7 separate regions of the Homo sapiens genome follow, and all the other regions are linked to region 1. Evidence: promoter capture Hi-C in 16 types of primary human blood cells and fetal thymus (Javierre and others, 2016). All regions are on one chromosome and are shown on one strand. The core of a region is centred on a gene start or on the middle of the fragment in contact, and the rest is flanking DNA. Distances in the headings are between cores, read along the strand shown. Region 1 holds the start of SP8 (Sp8 transcription factor). Region 2 has its middle 77 kb from the start of LINC03007. Region 3 holds the start of HOXA5 (homeobox A5). Region 4 overlaps HOTTIP (HOXA distal transcript antisense RNA). Region 5 holds the start of HOXA10-AS (HOXA10 antisense RNA). Region 6 holds the start of HOXA11 (homeobox A11). Region 7 has its middle 3.8 kb from the start of EVX1-AS.

What was found. The method cuts DNA at HindIII sites, captures the fragments that hold promoters and counts their contacts. A CHiCAGO score of 5 or more calls a contact.
Region 2: a fragment that was not itself captured here is called in contact with the fragment with the promoter of SP8 in region 1 in 2 of 17 cell types (naive B cells and total B cells); the score reaches 10.0 in naive B cells.
Region 3: the fragment with the promoter of HOXA5 here is called in contact with the fragment with the promoter of SP8 in region 1 in 2 of 17 cell types (total B cells and naive B cells); the score reaches 22.4 in total B cells.
Region 4: a contact is called between a fragment that was not itself captured here and the fragment with the promoter of SP8 in region 1, in 2 of 17 cell types (total B cells and naive B cells). The highest score is 14.1, in total B cells.
Region 5: a contact is called between the fragment with the promoter of HOXA10-AS here and the fragment with the promoter of SP8 in region 1, in 2 of 17 cell types (naive B cells and total B cells). The highest score is 49.2, in naive B cells.
Region 6: the fragment with the promoter of HOXA11 here is called in contact with the fragment with the promoter of SP8 in region 1 in 2 of 17 cell types (naive B cells and total B cells); the score reaches 28.5 in naive B cells.
Region 7: a fragment that was not itself captured here is called in contact with the fragment with the promoter of SP8 in region 1 in 2 of 17 cell types (naive B cells and total B cells); the score reaches 14.0 in naive B cells.

Annotation. Positions count from the first base shown.
Region 1 is chr7:20,785,629-20,788,328 of GRCh38, reverse strand. It overlaps SP8 (Sp8 transcription factor), which reads left to right and starts at 1,443. Exons shown (of 2, transcript NM_182700.6): 1 at 1,443-1,551; 2 at 2,534-2,700. The coding sequence starts at 1,531. The HindIII fragment of the contact is 6,810 bases long and covers 1-2,700 here.
Region 2 is chr7:25,865,606-25,868,305 of GRCh38, reverse strand. No RefSeq gene overlaps it. Among named protein-coding and RNA genes, the nearest start is that of LINC03007, 77 kb to the right of the region's middle. The HindIII fragment of the contact is 5,129 bases long and covers 1-2,700 here.
Region 3 is chr7:27,142,243-27,144,942 of GRCh38, reverse strand. It overlaps HOXA5 (homeobox A5), which reads left to right and starts at 1,262. Exons shown (of 2, transcript NM_019102.4): 1 at 1,262-1,897. The coding sequence starts at 1,336. The region is part of intron 1 of HOXA3 (homeobox A3); the gene reads left to right. All of the region lies in intron 1 of HOXA-AS3 (HOXA cluster antisense RNA 3), which reads right to left. The HindIII fragment of the contact is 13,335 bases long and covers 1-2,700 here.
Region 4 is chr7:27,205,982-27,208,681 of GRCh38, reverse strand. HOTTIP (HOXA distal transcript antisense RNA) reads right to left here. Exons shown (of 3, transcript NR_037843.3): 3 at 1,423-2,700. Among named protein-coding and RNA genes, the nearest start is that of HOTTIP, 6.9 kb to the right of the region's middle. The HindIII fragment of the contact is 1,227 bases long and covers 673-1,899 here.
Region 5 is chr7:27,167,582-27,170,281 of GRCh38, reverse strand. It overlaps HOXA10-AS (HOXA10 antisense RNA), which reads right to left and starts at 1,383. Exons shown (of 3, transcript NR_046609.1): 1 at 1,289-1,383; 2 at 518-975. The region is part of intron 1 of HOXA10-HOXA9 (HOXA10-HOXA9 readthrough); the gene reads left to right. It overlaps MIR196B (microRNA 196b), which reads left to right and starts at 719; the gene lies at 719-802. RefSeq lists enhancers at 517-1,107, 1,108-1,698. The HindIII fragment of the contact is 2,254 bases long and covers 1-1,934 here.
Region 6 is chr7:27,183,923-27,186,622 of GRCh38, reverse strand. It overlaps HOXA11 (homeobox A11), which reads left to right and starts at 1,391. Exons shown (of 2, transcript NM_005523.6): 1 at 1,391-2,187. The coding sequence starts at 1,479. It overlaps HOXA11-AS (HOXA11 antisense RNA), which reads right to left and starts at 1,215. Exons shown (of 2, transcript NR_002795.2): 1 at 360-1,215. RefSeq lists enhancers at 264-1,145, 2,028-2,700. The HindIII fragment of the contact is 8,872 bases long and covers 1-2,700 here.
Region 7 is chr7:27,249,702-27,252,401 of GRCh38, reverse strand. No RefSeq gene overlaps it. Among named protein-coding and RNA genes, the nearest start is that of EVX1-AS, 3.8 kb to the right of the region's middle. RefSeq lists enhancers at 369-1,072, 2,530-2,700. The HindIII fragment of the contact is 6,789 bases long and covers 1-2,700 here.

The DNA.
Region 1 (2,700 bases), core at 194-2,693:
ATGGCATTTCTGAAGGCAACTAATAACACAAATGGCAAGCAAATGACTAAACCCCACCGAATTTGAACTAAGTGTATCTATTAACATGCACACACACTCATAGACAGATCTCTGGCCCAATCGCCATTAGACACTGACGCCTGGATAAATGTCCAAGATTTGTCAAAAGCTCCTCTCTATTCTTAGATAAATAGAACCCATATATTTCGATCAAAGTCCTGATTCTTTTCTCAGAAAGAGGCAGTGAGGTTTTCTGTGAAAATTTCTAAATTCCGTAAAACGCTCTTCAATTTCTTACCCAAAGAAAAAACGACCCTCGCTTACTCTCTTCTCTATCTAATCCTTTTGTATTGAAATTTACTCAACACCACGGGACACACACACCTCCTCCCCTAGAGTGAGACGTGCACTTCTAAAGCAGAATTCCACCTCAGGGAAAAAAAAAAAAAAAAAAAAAAAAAAAGCCACGGCATCAAAGAAACAACTCATGGGCGCGCAGGCGCGCATCCACGTCCCAACGCATCCCTAAAAATAACCCTTAGCCTCTCAACCTTTCTACTATTTCGTTGGAGAGCCGGGAAAGAAAAGGTGGGTTTAAAGATCTTCTTCAAAAATGTAGTGACGCTGTTTACCAAGTTAAGAAAAAAAAATCACTCAAGATTTTAGGTACAAGGAGCCAAAGGAAGTTGGCGACAGGGGCAGCGTTTGTGAATATTTATTCACTCAGCCTCCATCAACTTAGTCGGTTTCTCTCTTCAGCTCGACAGTCTCTCTCTTACAAACACACACTTTATTGCATTGTTCCCATTCCCCACTACCAGCTTTGGTGCGCGCACACAACACAAGCGCCCACACACACCCTTCCCTCTTCTCTGTCGCACAAATACACATGTTCACAGCCCTCCTTCTCCCCCAACACCAAACACACTCACCCCCCACCCAGTTGAGTCCCTCTTCCCTCCCTAGGTTTGTCAGTTACACTACCGTACACTCACACCCTTCCCAACACTTAACTGCTCTGTCCCTCTACCCCGCTTTGTCGCACACGCAGTTATCTTATCACACAACCCTCCCTTTTCTGCACTCTCTCCACTCCCCGCCTTTACCACACTGTCACTGTTACGGTGTCACACCCCCATCCCCCCTCCCTCCAGTCTCCGCACTGTCCTCTCCTACGCCTGGTCACACTCGCACACAGTTACATTGTTACACACACACTCATACACGCGAGCGCGCGCTTTGCGCTTTGTAACACACGCAGCCGCCCCCGCCCCCTCCGCTCCCACTCCCCCTTCCACCACGGCGGCAGGCGGCGGCGCCGATGACCTCACGGCGCGCGCGCCGCGCGGCCCGGCGAGGCCGCAGATTGGCTGGCCGCGCCTCCGCGGCACTTCAAAGCCGGAGAGGGAGCTACAATTGTGGTGGAATGGGCGGAACTGATCATTGTATTGCACACCTCTAAAAAAAACACTGCCTCTGATTTATCAATATAAAAAAGATCCTCTGAGAGGAGGAGGGCACTTTTGTGTGATGGCAACTTCACTTCTAGGGGTGAGTCTCAGGATTTTCTCTTGCTGGTTTAATTAGTTTCCTTTTATTGCCGATTGGAGGGGGTTAAAGTCGCCCCGGCCAGGCCACGGGCTATCAGTCTCTCTATTGAGAGCTTTTTTTTTTTTTCTTTAAATACAAGTGAGTTTGGAGAAAAGAAAAAGGGGGAGAAGGGGGCAGAGTCACTTTTTTTCAGCGCAGGAAAAGGTTCGAAGGGCATTTAGACAAGCCACCGCGCAGCGCCTCGCTGCTCCCTGCCCGGGAGACCTGCGTCCAGCCCATTTTACAGGCACCGATTTCGGGGGTAAAGAGAGCAAGTTTTTCCTTCTGGGCAAAGTGCAGATTCTTCCCCTAACCCTTAAAAAAAAATTCTGCAGCCCGCCTTGTCTCGCAGGTACGTTGAACTCGTCTCGTTTTTACTACTGTAGATATGCTTTTAAAAAAAGAAAGAAAGAAAAGCAGGAAGAAAGAGTGAGCCCTACAGTTTGATTTCTTTTGGCCTGGGAGAAACAACCCAGGATGGGTTTCTGGGGACCCGAACAGGTTTTTCAAAGCTCTCCGGATTACAGGGAAGCGCTCTTAAAAGCAATCCAATGGTTTTCCCCCAGGCTTCTCGGCAAAGAAAACTTCCTTCCTCTCCAATCTGGACTTTTTGCTTGTTTGTTACGAAGTGTCTGGGGCTTTGTGTGCAAGAGAGTGTTGTTTTAGGTGAGAATACTTGTCAAACTCTTCTTTAGCGTGGTGCTTGCTCCCGAATCAGACGCCGGCAGCCAAACTTGTCCCCTCCTGTAGAGTAGGAAGCGGCCGGGCGCCGGGGCTGTTGGGGGTGCCAGGTGAGTTGGTGGCGGCGCGCCGCAGCGAGAGATGGGGTGCAGTGGGGCGCTTTGGAGGCTACCGAAGGACTGATGCACATTTCTTCCTTTCCTCCCCCACCGGCCCTTTGCCCACCTCCCCTCCCCCACTCCTTCTCCTCTCCTCCTCGCAGGAAGAACCGAGGTTGGGATCGACTCCTCTGGCCATGCTTGCCGCTACCTGTAATAAGATAGGCAGCCCCAGCCCGTCTCCCTCCTCCCTCTCGGACAGCTCTTCTTCCTTCGGCAAAGGCTTCCACCCCTGGAAACGCTCCTCGTCCTCTTCTTCCGCCAGCTGCAA
Region 2 (2,700 bases), core at 47-2,546, 5.1 Mb before region 1:
GGAAGTGGGAATGTGGGAACTTCAGCCTTTTAAATGTTTTAATATTTTGGCTTCTAAAAGCAAGATTGCACTTTTGGATCACTTTTATTTGGTTAAAAAACAAGCAACCAATCTGAAGACAAAACAAAATAAAGCAATATAAACACACCAAAGAAAAGGGAAAAAAAGAAAAAAAAAGCAGAAAGAAAAGAAAAAAATGAAAAAAGAAATGAACAAAAAACAACATCTCTCATAGAAATGTGCCCTACAAAGATAGTTACAGCCACTGACAGAGGTGTAAGAATATATGCATTGCAGCACTGTTTCCAATGCTGAAAAATTAGACACAATTTAAACATCTCCTAATATGGAATGTGTTGAATGAATCCAGTTGTGATCATTGAAAGTAGCCCTGTTGGCCAATCTAAATCACCTTATAGAAGAATCCTGGACCACGGGAAGATTTCCATCATCTACCAAGACTAATAAAACACCCCAACAGTTTACAAAACAGAATGTGCAATATTTAACTTTTTGAAATGCAAATACATACACAGAAAAAAGATGTCAAGAATATATATCATCGAATATATATCAAATATATATCAAGATCTGAGTAGTGGTTTTCTTTCGTAGGGAGTGAATTTTTCTTCCCTGCTTTCTTTGTGCTTTTAAATTTTACTACAATGCACATATATTATTTTAATATTTCAAAATATGTATATAGTTTGGAAAATGCACTAGCCCATAGATGACAATTTTTAATATTGATGACTCTTTTAAAAATCAGGACAAGCTGATACCAGATGCAGTGAATTCTCTGACAACTTTATATTTGAATTTTGTCATCAATCTCCTGTTCATTTACCTCTAATATCCCTTGGAATATTCTTATCAATGATACTGACATTTTGTATATGTTGTGGAAGGCAAACTAAAAAGGGAGAGAAAAAACTATAATTATTAAATATATTTTTTCTAGGAGTGATTTTTTTTTTCTTCAAAAATATGTCCCAAACCACCTCTGGAAGTCACAGTACTATTTCAAATTGGCAATTTTACAAAGAAATGTAATTTTGCCTGGCATACTGTTGCTCACCATCATAGTAAATACAAATAACACTCAGATGCTGAGGCATCAAGGACTCTGGAGCCTGTGAACTTATGTAGTAAATATTTTATAATTTTTTCTATACAAAATTCATTTTACAATCTAACTTAAATACATAAGATTGTTTAGTTTTTTGGGGGGTTGAATATGACTTTGAAAAGTCACTTGAACTTTATCTGTCTGATGTGAAGAGAAAAAATTGAGGCAATTTTCAACGTAATCCAAACTTAAAAGAAAAAAAAAAAAACCTTGTTCATTTTACATTTTGGAGACAGACTGTTTCTTTCTCCCTTTAGATACATTTTTGTATTTGTATGGGAAGCTGGTATTCTGGCACTATTTTGTTTTTATTTTTGTATATGACATTTTTATAGCGAATGAAAGTTAAAGTTTTCATAACTGCTTTGCCATCTTTTAGAAACAGCCACAGAATATAACATCCCTAAATACAGTAACTGTTAATAAAGCTGCCACTTATTTTTTCAAGTCTGTTTTCATTACTTGATTATGGCACTCTGGGTACAAAACATAGCTTGTTTTCATGAAAAAAAATGATAGACATATAATTATCTTTCTCTCTCTCTCTCTATATATATATCTCAAATAGTGAATTCATGGTTTTTCTTTTTTTTTGTTTTTGAGACAGAGTCTCGCTGTCACTAGGCTGGAGTGCAGTGGTGCGATTTCTGCTCCCTGCAAACTCCGTCTTCGGGTTCAAGCGATTCTCCTGCCTCAGCCTCCCGAATAGTTTAACTTCTGCTACTACAGGCGCGCACCACCATGCCCAGCTAATTTTTGTATTTTTAGTAGAGACAGGGTTGCACCATGTTGGCCAGAATGGTCTCGATCTCTTGATCTTATGATCTGCCCTCCTCGGCCTCACAAAGTGTTGGGATTACAGGCGTGAGTCACCGCGCCCGGCCCATGGTATTAAATTTTTTAAAAATACCCATAATGAAAGGAACCTGAAACAAACAAAATACCTCTTTCATGTTCTTAATTTCCTTTCTTGGAGATAGTGTTTGTCCACAAAGGCAAATGCAATCTTTTGAAAAGTATATGGAAACAAACACCTTCCAGCTGTGAGCATGTAATTGGTCAATCAGTTCTTATTCAGAGATGTTTTTAAATGTCACTGTGTATTCTTATTTAATTCTTGGATCCCTGCATCCATAAAAATAGTGGCCTAAACTGTTGCTGTTCTATGGAGATATCAATTTCCATGTCTTTTTCTTACAAAACCATACTGGAAAAATGGATGGAATTACCCATTTCACATAATTCGTAAATTTAAATAAAATAACATGGAACACAGATTTCGACTTTCTCACAGTTGGCAATGTAATTTATATATTTGGAACGTGGTTCATTTCTATTATTTGAACCCTCACTTAAATATGTTAGAGTTAGTTATTACTGTAAGCTGAGAGAACCAACATGTAAAAACAGATTGATTTCCACAACCATCTGCCACCACAATGAAATAATTTGGCTTAGAAACTTACAGGATATGTGATATATTATAAACAGTGTATTGTTATGAGTTTACAATTTAATGATAAACAGGGCTATTTGTTTTGTTACTGAAACCGTAATATCAAGATGGGGAA
Region 3 (2,700 bases), core at 13-2,512, 6.4 Mb before region 1:
TCCCAGCCTCCGATAGCGCCCGCGTCGCCGCCACAGCAGCGTTCAGGACCCAACGAGGGGCCCAGGGCCATGGGAGCCGCCAGAGTCCTGGCTTCCAGACGTGCCAGGGGCGCCTGCAACGCCGGGCCTCCAGCGGGGAGACTCCACTTGCCTCTCAGCTATATTTGTGATTTACTTGAGTCTTTCGGAGCCGTGGAAAATAACTACAGAGATACTAGGCACTGCCAAGGAATGCTTCCATTATCGCCCTCATTTTACTCCTGGAGGTCTAAGCAAGACCCCAGTAACCCGCCCCACGGATCCCCAGACCCCAGGCAGCCTCTGTGGCTGCAGGGAGCCTGGGCCCACTCGCTGGGTTCAAGGAGAACCCTCCGACTTGGGGCCCGGCTGGCTCGAGGAACCGGACCCTGTGATGAAGATTTTCCAGGCTGGATACGTAAGCAAATCAAATCGCAAACTAATGACACGAAAACCATATTCACACGAAAGAAAAATCGACTACGGTTATAAAAGTGTATGGAATTTGACCTCGCCTTGGAGAAACACTACACAAAAGCTATCTTTAATAGACGCCTGTCATTTAAGAGCGGCAGGGACACTGTCCCTCATGCGCTCGCAAAAACAGAGCCGTAATTGTAGCTGCTGCTGCTGCGGGCAGGATTTATTTCTCCAATTGGCTAAATGGCTTTCCCCCTTCCCCGAAGGTGATATCTGTATTTTCAAAATTCAGAGCTGCTGGCAGGACGGTCAGTACCGACCCCAACCTCGACACAAAAATAAGAGGGGCTGCAAAACGGGGGAAATAAAGTTGTTGTAAATAAAATGCAAGTCACCACCTCCCCCCAATCCTCTGCATCCTCGCCGGGCGCGCGATCGGCAGCTGACGGCCTAACAATTGGTACATCCTAATGGAACTGCGAGGGAAATGCAATAATTTTGCCATAATGGGCTGTAACCTCAATTCGACCCCGGCCCTTGCAGCCCCCGGTCGGAAGCTGGGCGATGAGCCCTGCCTCCAGCGGGTGGCGCTCGAGTCCGGCTGAACGGCGGCAACTGGCGGCGGGCACGCGCCCGGGGCGCGCGCGCCACCCCCCTCGCCTCCACCCAACTCCCCTATTAGTGCACGAGTTTACCTCTAGAGGTCATCAGGCAGGATTTACGACTGGACAACAAAAGCACGTGATTCGAAGTCGTACCCCATATTTGGGTGCCTACGTAGGAGGGAACCAAGTACATGTCCCAGTCATTTCCATAATTCATCATAAATTGTGCAAGGGTGCTATAGACGCACAAACGACCGCGAGCCACAAATCAAGCACACATATCAAAAAACAAATGAGCTCTTATTTTGTAAACTCATTTTGCGGTCGCTATCCAAATGGCCCGGACTACCAGTTGCATAATTATGGAGATCATAGTTCCGTGAGCGAGCAATTCAGGGACTCGGCGAGCATGCACTCCGGCAGGTACGGCTACGGCTACAATGGCATGGATCTCAGCGTCGGCCGCTCGGGCTCCGGCCACTTTGGCTCCGGAGAGCGCGCCCGCAGCTACGCTGCCAGCGCCAGCGCGGCGCCCGCCGAGCCCAGGTACAGCCAGCCGGCCACGTCCACGCACTCTCCTCAGCCCGATCCGCTGCCCTGCTCCGCCGTGGCCCCCTCGCCCGGCAGCGACAGCCACCACGGCGGGAAAAACTCCCTAAGCAACTCCAGCGGCGCCTCGGCCGACGCCGGCAGCACCCACATCAGCAGCAGAGAGGGGGTTGGCACGGCGTCCGGAGCCGAGGAGGACGCCCCTGCCAGCAGCGAGCAGGCGAGTGCGCAGAGCGAGCCGAGCCCGGCGCCGCCCGCCCAACCCCAGATCTACCCCTGGATGCGCAAGCTGCACATAAGTCATGGTAAAGCCAGCCTTTTTCTAAATCCACGCGACCGCGGGGACGCGGCTCTCGGTCCCCCCTCTCTTCTCTGCCGCCCTCTCCCAGTCTCTCTTGGTCTCATTTCTCCCAGCCCTGCGGAGCTCTCCTTGCCGTTCTCCCTCCCCTGCCTTCCTCCTTCCTCCTCTTCTTTGCGAGCACCCTGCGCTCACAAATAGTGGGGGAAATGGGCGTTCTCTGGGACAGTTTAGACGTTGGAAGGGGGAGGAAGCAAAAAACCCCTCTGGAACCCCACGCCTTGGGACGCGCTCCCGGGTCAGGCCAGCCGAGCAAGGCGCAGAGAGGTAGAGGATGGCTGTAGCAGCCGTGAATCGGGCTTGTCACGGCGGATAATTTATGAGGAGGGCTACGCTGGGGAAACAGCGTTACTAATTACAGCCCCCGAAAAGGGGCTTGGGGGAAAGAATCGAGGCGAGAGCCTGCAGGATTCTGAATTTTGGGGGCAGGAGGGAGAGAGAAGGAAAGGGAAGAAAAAGAAAACAGGCTCCCCAACCCTGCAGGCTGGAAACGGGAGGCGGCTCTCGGGGCTGGAACTTTGAGGGAGGGTGACCCGAAGGCCACTTGGGCGCTCAGGAAAGGGCCTTGCTTCCTGGGTTTCTGTGCGGTGGGCAGCCTGGGAGGGCTGTGCCTCCCGATCGGGGCGCCCGGGGCAGGGCGGAGGGGGCAGGAGAGGGGCCAGGGAAAGCCGGAGTCCGCCGGGACACGGCCCCAGCCTCAGATGGGCAGATTGTTCCCAGGGTCCAAATCGTATTGTTTTCTTTCTAGAA
Region 4 (2,700 bases), core at 37-2,536, 6.4 Mb before region 1:
TGCTGTGTGAGCTTGGAGCAGAGCTGATCCCTTAATCCTCTCAACCTGAGACAGACAAACATACACACACACACACACACACACACACACACACACACACACACACGATCCAGAAAGTCCCCTCCCAGCTCACCTGGTTAGGCCCACACTGGACCCCTGTCTGGATTCCACACCCCCAGCCAAGCAACCCTGCTCTGCTCCCAGCAGAAATCACAGGGACTTCTATTCCTCAGGGTGACAAACGAGTCTGCTTGCTCTTGGTGACATCAAATTACTTTGCACCAGCCTAGGGTCCCATGACCTGACATAACCTCACATTAGATCCTAGAAATGTAAAGAAATATGGCCTTTTAAAAGTGGCTGAGAGCAGGTAATTGCTAGCAGGCTTGAAGGGTTGTCCCAAGCTCAGCTCGCGACCTCTGCCTCCGAAGCTGATACCAGCAGGAATTCATGCGTTTGGACTCTCTATGGGCAGAAGGTCGAGCCTGCATTTAACTCTGGACAATAATCAGGTTCTTAAAGCCCAGATTGTTTTTGTGCAGTTACAGAAATCACAGGGAGGCTTTGGACCTAAATGGCAAGGAACACTCGACAGTGGCACCGCCCCCACTGCCCCCCAGCCAGGCTTCCACAAAGAACAGGCTTCAGCGGAGAATGGGCTTCTGCTAAGCTTTAAAAACAGGCCTTCTTTGAGCTGCTGTAGCTTAAATTTTTGTGGAGAATTACAGTTTCATTGCTTCTTATTCTTCTCCCTCCCATCTCTCCCTTCCTCTTTGTCTCCTGGCTTGTCTGTGGCTTCTCTCTTCCCCTCTCCCTCTTCCTCCGAATTGTTTGACTTCTGCAGTCCCCACCCTTACCCTGACCCGAGCCCTCACCCCTGCGGTGAACTCCATCTTAGGATCTGGAGACATGGGACCCTTAAACCCACCACTGTGCCCAAGGCTTGGTAGGAGTCAATCTTGCTGATACCCCACAGACAGTGGGCAGAGAGCTCATGGCTTCTGCAACATATAGTTGGAGTCGTTCGAGATTATTGTAAAATATGTACACACACTTTCTTCTCTTTTTTAATTTACATACCCCTTATGAGTTTCATCAAATAGCTCTTTTCTAATACCATGAGAATTTATATGCTTAGTGTAAAAGCATCCCAGATATTTAATCACTACTCAAAAAAATTAATTAAGAAACCATAAACAACCCAAATACAAAATACTGCCATAGAAAAGATGATCAGTATCCACTCAGACAAGTGGGGTTAGAATTTATTAAGCAGCCGGGTAGTGTAAAAGTTGTCAAATTCAACCGTGTGCTATTTTCTGTTTTTACCTTTTTGCTTTCTGAAGTTGCCAAGCCTTTCAGTTAAGTCACTTTCAGAGTTCGACAGGGAGAATCATGCTCGTTGTAAATGAGACTACCAGATTAAAACAAAAGAAACCAGAACATCTTTATTCATTCTTTTTTAAAAATAATCCCTTATTGCTAGGGGGATATTTTCAACGCATGGCATTGAATTTCTTCCTGAAAACTGCGGTTGCTCTGATAAGCCATCAATTCAGTGCAAACTTTCCTAGTTTAATCATTAGAAATTTCTTTTGTGTTTCTACCAGGGGAGAAGTTGTGCTGAAATGAAATATAGTCATTTACCCACTAATAAGTGAATATGTGTTAATTTAGGACACACTAAGGACTGAGGTATGTTTTTTGTGTTCCTCCATAATTCTGATGCAGCAATAGAAATTTTCTATTAAAGGACGATTCTCTCATATAAAAAAGTAACATAAATCTTCCTCTTTCATATGTAATTTTTAGAAAGATGAGACAAGATTTTTAGGCAAGATGGGTCCACCCCTCAAACCCCTTTTTTGTCCAGCTTACTCCTGGGTGAACCCTCAAGCTTTTTCTAGAGTTTCATTGCAATAACCCAATTTCAAGCCCTTTTACTCAATCTTGAAATATAACAGATCTTTGAAATCCTATGGTGGGGGTGAAATGATGTGATGCTATCTGGGATTTACTTTAAAATACTAAAGATAGAGAGAGAGGAAGTGGATAATAAAACACTGAAGATGAAATTATAATAGGGGTCAAAACTTGGAGATGGGTACCTAGGGGTTTGTTATGCTTGTGTGTGTGTTTGACAAATTCCATAATAAAAGGATTTTTTTTTTTAAATTGTATCGGGCAAAGGTGGAAAAACTATCCCTGCCAAAGGGCTACCAAAAAACAAAAAAGTGGTCTGTTGGTTAGCACCTGTAGTTGCCCATTCCTAATTCTTGATTTCCAGAAACAGAAAACGACCTTGCTCCCTTTTCATTTCTCTGGAGTCAGCGGCCAACCTTGATGCTTTCTTTCCGGCAAACTCCCTCTCCCAACCCATAAACTGAATATCTAAACCCAAGGTTGGAGTATGATTAATGGAACTTCCGTACTCAGCTCCCCTCACCAGAGTGTAAATACCCATACAAACTAATATCAAAAGTTCTTACTGAGCGCTTCGTTTCCCTGAGAGCTGGGCCGAACGGGGCTGGAGCCGCGGGACAAAGGAACCGCGGCTGTTCCTTGAAAAGTGCTGGGTGCTCTAGACCCGCTCAGTGAGAGTCCCTGGAGCCAGACGGAGGTTCTGGGGAGGACATGCGAACCTGGCAACGCCAGTCCAGGACTCACCTTCCACGGAGGGCAGGTGTATTTACCAAGCCA
Region 5 (2,700 bases), core at 134-2,633, 6.4 Mb before region 1:
CCGGTTATTTTGCGGGTGTCTGGGTCACAGATGACCCTCAATCTGAATCGGGGAGCAGGCCTGGCCCACAGCGCATCTCTAGCCGCTGGAGGCAGCGGTTAGGTGGACCCGGGCTGGACTGCATGGGGGCCTCCCCCTCCCCCAGTACGGCCTCCCCCACCTGGCGGCACTCCTTAGGGCCACGCGTTTCCTGCTTGCCAGAGTGGGGGGGGCGGGGGCTAAGGGGAGGGGGCGCAGGAGCGCGCGCCCCGGCGGGCGGGCAGCTAGGAGGGAGAGGGGGAGAGCGAGAGGCGGGAGGCCGGGGCCAGACAGGGAGCCGGGATCTGTACCGTCCCTGGCGCTTTCGAGCCTTCCACGGCTACCGCCTCTTGGCGCCGGCTCGCTGGGCTGCAAGATTTGGGAAAGCGGCGCGCACACTGCTTCTCGGAGCTGCTCTCGTCTCGCCTGCTCCCCGCCTTTATTCCTCTCTCCCTGCCTTTCCTCCCTCTCTTTTCCTCCCTCTCCCTCCCAGGAATACCTTACTGGGGCCTGTGGCTTCCCCTTCCTTGACGCATTTGCGGCCGCCTGGGGCACTCTGTTGCACTGGCGGGCGCAGGTTGCCTAGGGGCTGGGCTGGGCCGGGCCAGGCGCGATGGCAGGGTTCTCTCCTTGGCGGCGGCGGCAGCGGCGGAGGCGGCGGCGGCGGCGGGCGAGGCAGCCCTTCGCGGGCAGCACCAGAACTGGTCGGTGATTTAGGTAGTTTCCTGTTGTTGGGATCCACCTTTCTCTCGACAGCACGACACTGCCTTCATTACTTCAGTTGAAATCGTCTCCAGGTACCTCTGCGCGCGGGGGTCGGGCCGGGCGGGGCATCACGGCCCTGGTCGTGCCAGGCCTGCGGTGGCAACCTCGGCTTTCCCTGCTCAGGAGCCTCGTGTCTTTCTCCGCAGCGCTTTGCCAGCCGGCCGGCTTTCCCCTTCCACCACACACCTCCACCTGGTCACAGCAGGTAGGGTTAGGTTGGCTGCTCCTTCGCGGACGCCGGGGGCGTGGTAGGAATTCTGGGCTTTGGGCCATTCAAGGTCAGGGGCGCCCGCTTCCATCCTGAGCCTCCCACTGGAGGCCTGCGCCTGCCCAGGGACCTCCTGCCATTCTCTTGTAAGGCTGGAACACACACACACACACACACACACACACACACACACACACCAGTCCCGGGTGTGAGCTCAGGAAAGAACCTCCTTCCAGTGGAGACTCAGGCTGGACTAGGAAGGATAGGGCAGGCTGGGATCCTGGCCTTGTCACTTACCCTTCTCTCTGTAAGCTCGGCCGCTGCTAGGAGTCGCCTCTCTTTTCTTCCTTCTTTTCCCTGTCTTCCCTTCCTCTTTTATCTCTTCTTTCTTTTTTTCTTCTTTCCTTTGCTCCTTCCTGCTTTCTTTTCTTCCGTTGGTCTTTTTTTCATCTTCCGTCTCTGCCAGATTCTATCTCACCTCCTTATCTCCTTCCCAAAGCATCCTTGGGGAGGGGCCCAGAGCTGGCTTCAGGAGAGCCTAGGGGGTCTCACTTTCCTCTGCGGCTCAAGTAGAGGTTGGGAAGTCTGCCGAGGAAGGGCCCGCGTGGGGCGGCTGCCGAGGGCGGTGGGTTTGGGCCTGGTGTGTTACTCTGCAGACAAGGCCTCGGTTATGATCACGACCGGATGGCGGCAGCCTTGCGTTTCTTCGCCTGTCGCTAACGGCTGACTAGGAGATCTGATTAGGGGACATTCGCTGCAGCTTTGTGTGCCCATATCGAGGGCAGGGAGGCCTTCGCCAGCCTCACTGGGGACTGGAGCTGAGGCCCAACCAGCCTCGCTGGAGCCTGGCCATTCGCTGGGAAGCTCTTAGCTGGCTCTTCCCGGCCTGCCGGTCACAGCTTGGGGTTTGACCGCATTGAGGGAGACTGGCTAGGGCAAAGCTTGACTGCTTGCTTACTAGTGGCTTCCATTAGGTACAAAATATGTTCCATACAGCACCTTTGTGCAGCTGGGTGCTGGAGAAGGGGACCCTTCCAAGAGCCAGTATGTTTTAAATGGGCAAAAAGAATCCCAAATTCCAGAGCCATTGATATAAACTTGAGTCATCGTTCCAAATTGTAGTCTACAGATGGGAGCCAGTCTGACCATTTTCCCTACAGAAAACAGAAAACAAACTATCTCTCCCTACTCCCAACACACACAGTTACAGATTCGTGCCCACAAAGCTGTTTCCTTTCCCTGCCTGGACTGGAGGCCCAGGAACTCTTTCGTTGCACAGCCACCGACCTGCTGTCTGAAAGGACCACACACCCCATTCCCTTCAACTCCTCCCTGCCATTTTCTGGACCAGGGCATTGGATTTATTTCAGAGATCACAGTTTCAGAAATCTCAGTCGAGAAGGGGCCGCTTTAAATTATACTCATTTATTATTTCTTTATGCATACGCAATCTCTTTCACTTCGAAAATAAAAGCAGACAAAAAAGTCAGACTATTCTGGCTCCAAACCTTTGGGCTGAAGGAAGACAATATTTGGTTTTCTGATTTTTCTCCGCTTTCTAGGCACCAGTAACATCTGCTTAACACTCAACGCCTGCTAATTGTTCAGTAACTCTCTTATTTTGGGGCTAAGGCTGTTTAAAGGAACAGCTTTTTTACTTAAAAAATACTGAAATAATCAGTGTCTTCTCAGGCATAAAACGTGGAAAA
Region 6 (2,700 bases), core at 142-2,641, 6.4 Mb before region 1:
GCTAGACTCAGAGTATTGCTATGGCCTCTCTCTATCCTTAGCACAAACCTAGCTTTTTAAAGACATCCCTGTTTCCCCAGGTGCAGGGAGTTCGGGAAGCACCTCTCCTTTCTCTGGTATTGTATTCCTCCTGTGGAATGAGCAGTAGGAAAGGCACAGAGCTCTCTGAGTTTTTGCCCTGCACATCCCTTGCTTTCACTCTCACACATTGCAAGGAAGGAGAGTAGGAGAGTAGGTGGGTTACCCCTTTCTCAGCCACCTCTCCTTGGCCCTCAGCCCGTCCTTTCCACCTCCATTCTCCCCACACCCCTGGAGCTCTGTAAGCAGCCTGATGGGCCCCCCACGAAGATGCAGCATACCCAGGAGAAGTCTCCTCGGATGTCAGCGCCTCTAAAGCAGCCCAAGGCTTGCCTCAATTGCATGGTTTCCCGAGTCCTCAGCTCCAGAAGACCAGGCAGATGGGTGGACCGGTGAGCAGCAGGGCAGCCCCTGTGCCTCTGTCTCTGCCGAGTCACTCCGAAGCCCGGCAGGCAGCGAGGAGGAGGGAGTTTCTCCAAGGACAGAAGGTGGGATGAAGAGGTAGGCAGGGAAGATGAGGGGAGAGGTGGATCCCGGGTAAGACGAAGGCCCTTCCGGGCCCTGCGGATCAGTGACAAACCGCGGGGAGAAGCCGTTCTGGCTGTTGGCGGTTTAGGGACGGAAGGCACTAAAGCGCTTCGGAAGTGACCATGAATGAGAGAGTGTAATCAAGTCACCGTGCAAATCGGACAAGCCACCAGGCAGGCACATCCACGGCTTCAAACTCTGGCCCCGAAGGGGTTCCGGCTAGGGTCGGAGGCAGAGGCGCTTCCCAGAGCAAGTCTATGGGAGGGGGACTGCGAAGAAGGGGGTGCAAATGCGAGACTCCAGGAGAACAGACTCCGAGACCACAGGCCACACAGCGACGGACTCCCACCTGGCTATCCCCAGTCCAGGGCATCCCTCACCCACCCGGGGAGCTGCGGGTGGGAGGTGGGGACGAGAGTTGAGCTCTCACCGCCCTCTGCACACTCGAGAACGAGGACCCTGCAATTGAGCACAAGCATGCTGCATGGGGGCGCACCCCAGCCTCTCCGCGCGCGCCGGGAGGCCCCCCAGCCAACATGAGTTACACCGGCGATTACGTGCTTTCGGTGAGAACACCGAGTGACGATCTGTTGCTTCCCCTGAGGTGGCTACAAAGAAAGGAAGCCGGGAGGGAGGGGAGAGGAGGAAAAAAAAAAAAGGAAAGGGGGGGGGAAAAGGCCCGGACTAGCTAGCAGCTTGTCAATTTCAACATCGGGTCACATGACCAGCACCTCCCTGCTAAGGATGGGGATAGATTTCCACGTCAGCTTACGTCTCCAAATTTCTACTTCACGGATCCGCTTCAAAGAGGCAGCTGCAGTGGAGAATCATGTTAAGCTCGGCTACTGCGGAGAGCCCAAGGTAGCCCAATAATGGATTTTGATGAGCGTGGTCCCTGCTCCTCTAACATGTATTTGCCAAGTTGTACTTACTACGTCTCGGGTCCAGATTTCTCCAGCCTCCCTTCTTTTCTGCCCCAGACCCCGTCTTCGCGCCCAATGACATACTCCTACTCCTCCAACCTGCCCCAGGTCCAACCCGTGCGCGAAGTGACCTTCAGAGAGTACGCCATTGAGCCCGCCACTAAATGGCACCCCCGCGGCAATCTGGCCCACTGCTACTCCGCGGAGGAGCTCGTGCACAGAGACTGCCTGCAGGCGCCCAGCGCGGCCGGCGTGCCTGGCGACGTGCTGGCCAAGAGCTCGGCCAACGTCTACCACCACCCCACCCCCGCAGTCTCGTCCAATTTCTATAGCACCGTGGGCAGGAACGGCGTCCTGCCACAGGCTTTCGACCAGTTTTTCGAGACAGCCTACGGCACCCCGGAAAACCTCGCCTCCTCCGACTACCCCGGGGACAAGAGCGCCGAGAAGGGGCCCCCGGCGGCCACGGCGACCTCCGCGGCGGCGGCGGCGGCTGCAACGGGCGCGCCGGCAACTTCAAGTTCGGACAGCGGCGGCGGCGGCGGCTGCCGGGAGACGGCGGCGGCAGCAGAGGAGAAAGAGCGGCGGCGGCGCCCCGAGAGCAGCAGCAGCCCCGAGTCGTCTTCCGGCCACACTGAGGACAAGGCCGGCGGCTCCAGTACGTATAAAGGCAGCGCCCTGCGCTTTATGAAAGGGGAGTTGGAAATCTAGCGCAGCACCGCTGTTAAATTTTTATATGCTGTTTTATAAGCATATAAGGTTTATGAAGGGCCTTTAGGTTTCCCCCAACAAAACTTTGTTATAAAAGGCGGGATCACGTGGCGAGTGCTGAAATTGGCCGTGAAATACCCACCGGCCAAGGCATGCCTGCAAAAAAAAACAACTCCCCTTTTCCCTTTTTTCCCTTCTCAGCTCCCAAGCCCAGCAGCTCGACCCCGCTCGGGGCCAGCTCCAGGCTGGGGAGCCGGAGGTGGGCGCCTGTAAATTCCCCCTGCAAGGGCTTCGGGAGCTTTTGATAGCGAGGTAATCCGGAGATTTTTATAAAAGCCATGTGTTGCGCCGGGACTCCAGTCCCGGCCGGGATTCAAAGGCGTCGCTGTTTAACGACGGCGCTAGGAGCGCGTTTAACAGATAAAGTAGCCCGCTTAGCTCTAGCAATATATTAAAAGAA
Region 7 (2,700 bases), core at 73-2,572, 6.5 Mb before region 1:
CTTCTGGGACACGCACACTAACAGAGCCCGCGTAGACGCGGCACGCGGTTTTACCCAAGAGCGCCAGTTTCGGGAGAAACAAAACCACCTCCCCGCGCACATCGTTCTGGTCTTTCCCTAAACAGGTTGAGGGAGGGCAAGTAGACACCTGGGGAGGCACCTGTCGCCTGGACTCAACTGCACGGGGTCCTCACGAGGCTCCCGGACGCCTGCGGGAGGAGGGCGACAGAGGGGAACTGGCCTCACCCAGGAGGGGTTATTTCAGGATACAGAAAGGGACACTTCGATGGGGGAAGGAAAGGATTCTTCTCTGAGGGAAGTAGACGCTGCTCACAGGCCCAAGGGCCCCCAGAGGAGCCAGCCATGGAAAGGGCTCCGGCCCAGAGGGACGTGAAGCGACCCGGGCGCGCTTCCCGTCCCCAAATGGCAAGCGGCGGGGGTCGGGGAAGCTGTGGAAACGAGGTTCTTTCCCCGCCATCGGCTTAGAAGGAAGGCCAAGCCTCCAGAGTCCAGAAGCTACCAGCAACCTGTGCCGCGCTCGCAACGAGGCCTTCCGACTTCAGCTACAAAGGCCTCAGCGCCCTGTGGGTCAGACCCAGGCCCGGGGGTACGAGCCCCGTACGGGGAGGGACGGAGACCCGGGCACAAACTGGGACGTCCTGCAGTCAGCGTCCGGGGGCTCGCTGTTCCTCGGCTTGCCCAGCCCGGGCCACACGCGCCCGCTGCCTGCGCGAGGGAGGCGGGAACCTGAAGCCGGCGAGAGCGAGGCCCGGCCCGAGTCGCCACCGCAGCCACAGCCACGGCGCAGGCTGGCGCGCCGGGGACCCTCGGCCTCACCTGGGTCTTGGGGAGGTCAGAAGCGCCCCTAATCCTACAGGGCCACGCCCGCTCCTTTCCCTCGGGGAGCCAGATTGGAATGGCTGCTTTTGATCCCATTTGTTACCAACCCCGGCATTTGTTTTCCATTTTACAAACGCTTCCCTTTAAGTAATTGTCCCTGTTAACAGCGTATACCTTTCAGCAGCGCTCACTGCGCTATAAATAATCTCGATGAAGACGCAAGGATATGACTTTCACAAGATTGGACAATTGATTCAATCTGTGACCCGCGATGGCGAATAATATTGGAAGGCTATTTAAACAGATGAAGGCCTAAATTGTCTTGCTTGTATCTGAATTAATTTCTCATTCATCATCATTATGAAGTGATTGGTCTATTCAAGCTCTTCAGCCTGCTGGAACGGAACGGGATTTAAATGAGATTGTAACACAATTTAAATGCTTGCCGACTTTAACGAGGCCAATTGAGCAGCTGCAATAAATATAAATATTTTTCTAAACAGCCGTGTTTTAAATTATTACTTAATGCTTTCATGTTTTTTTAAGTGGCAGTCTTTCTCTCCCTCCTGCTCCTGCTCAGAATATCACATACTTATTTGCTGAAAAGGTGATTTTGGAAACAACTTTGTGTTTCTGTTTGCTTTGTAGACAGTAGGATATGTTTTGTGATTGGGTTTTGTTTTGTTTTGTTTTGTTTTGTCTTTTTCTCAGAGTCAACATTTCCAGGGTCCCTCAAGCTGGCACAAATGGTGAGCTGAGCCTTAGTTTCACCCTAAAGCAGTCTTCTGTGCTGCCCCCGCAGAGCTTGGGAGGAGCTGAGTGATGGAAGAAATTTGTCGTTTGGATCTAGTCACTTATCCAGACGCAGTTTAGCTGGGTTTTGCAAATGAATCCGTGTTATTGCACTTACAAATGACACCCTGAAGAGTGGCATTGTTTCTGATTTGTACTGATGACCGTCATCATCTTGAACAAATCAGAATTCCAACATATCCCAAAGGTATCCCTTAGAAAGCTCAATCTGCTGGCAGTTTGGCTTCCTGCAAATCAAAAGGAGTAGGTGGAGGCTGACTGAGGATTTCTTTATTAGGGAAGGGGCACAGAAAGAGAACTTTGCCATAACAAATGGTGGCAGGATGGTGGAGGAGGGGGTTGATAATTAGAGAAATGCCAATTTTGTGGCCTCAACCTCCTTTCTCTCCTATCTGTAACCCCACTCCTACTCTTTCCTCTACCATTCTTGGGTGATGATGTATGGAGAGGATGCTAAGATCCCTACTTTGAGAATGCCATCCGTCTGGACACCTTTGGCGGCAACTGTCCACCGCGACACTCACGCTTATTCTCCGGCGGACATATGGTGGCTGGTGTTTCCGCAGTTGGGGAATAATGGAAGCAACCAAGCGGGAGAAGCCTGAGGAACAAAAGAATCTTTTAAACTTTAGTGAAAGGGCCGGGGTTGGGGATGTGGGGGGACACTCGACTTACTGTGAGGACCTGAGCCCAATTTCGGGGTGACTGTCTAAGGCCATGTCCCCCCCGAAAGGCCTAGGGCAAGGAGATGCATTCTGAATCTCTTCTCCCTCAATCCCTGGTCGAGGGAGAGGGACTTCCTGTCTGGAGAGTGCGGGTGCAGGGTTTGAAACTAGGAAGGTGGAGTCAACATAATCACTAAAGAAACCGTTCGTGGGGCATGCCACATTGGGAGACAGGATCAAACTGTAGGACAGAAAAAAAAAAAATACGGACAAGGATGCAGAAACCAAGTAGCGATTTGCTATGTAACTGAGCAATTTAATGCCATAGTTAGGGAGCTGCTAGCCAGAATCATTTTGTCTTCAAGGCTCTGCGGAGCTCATC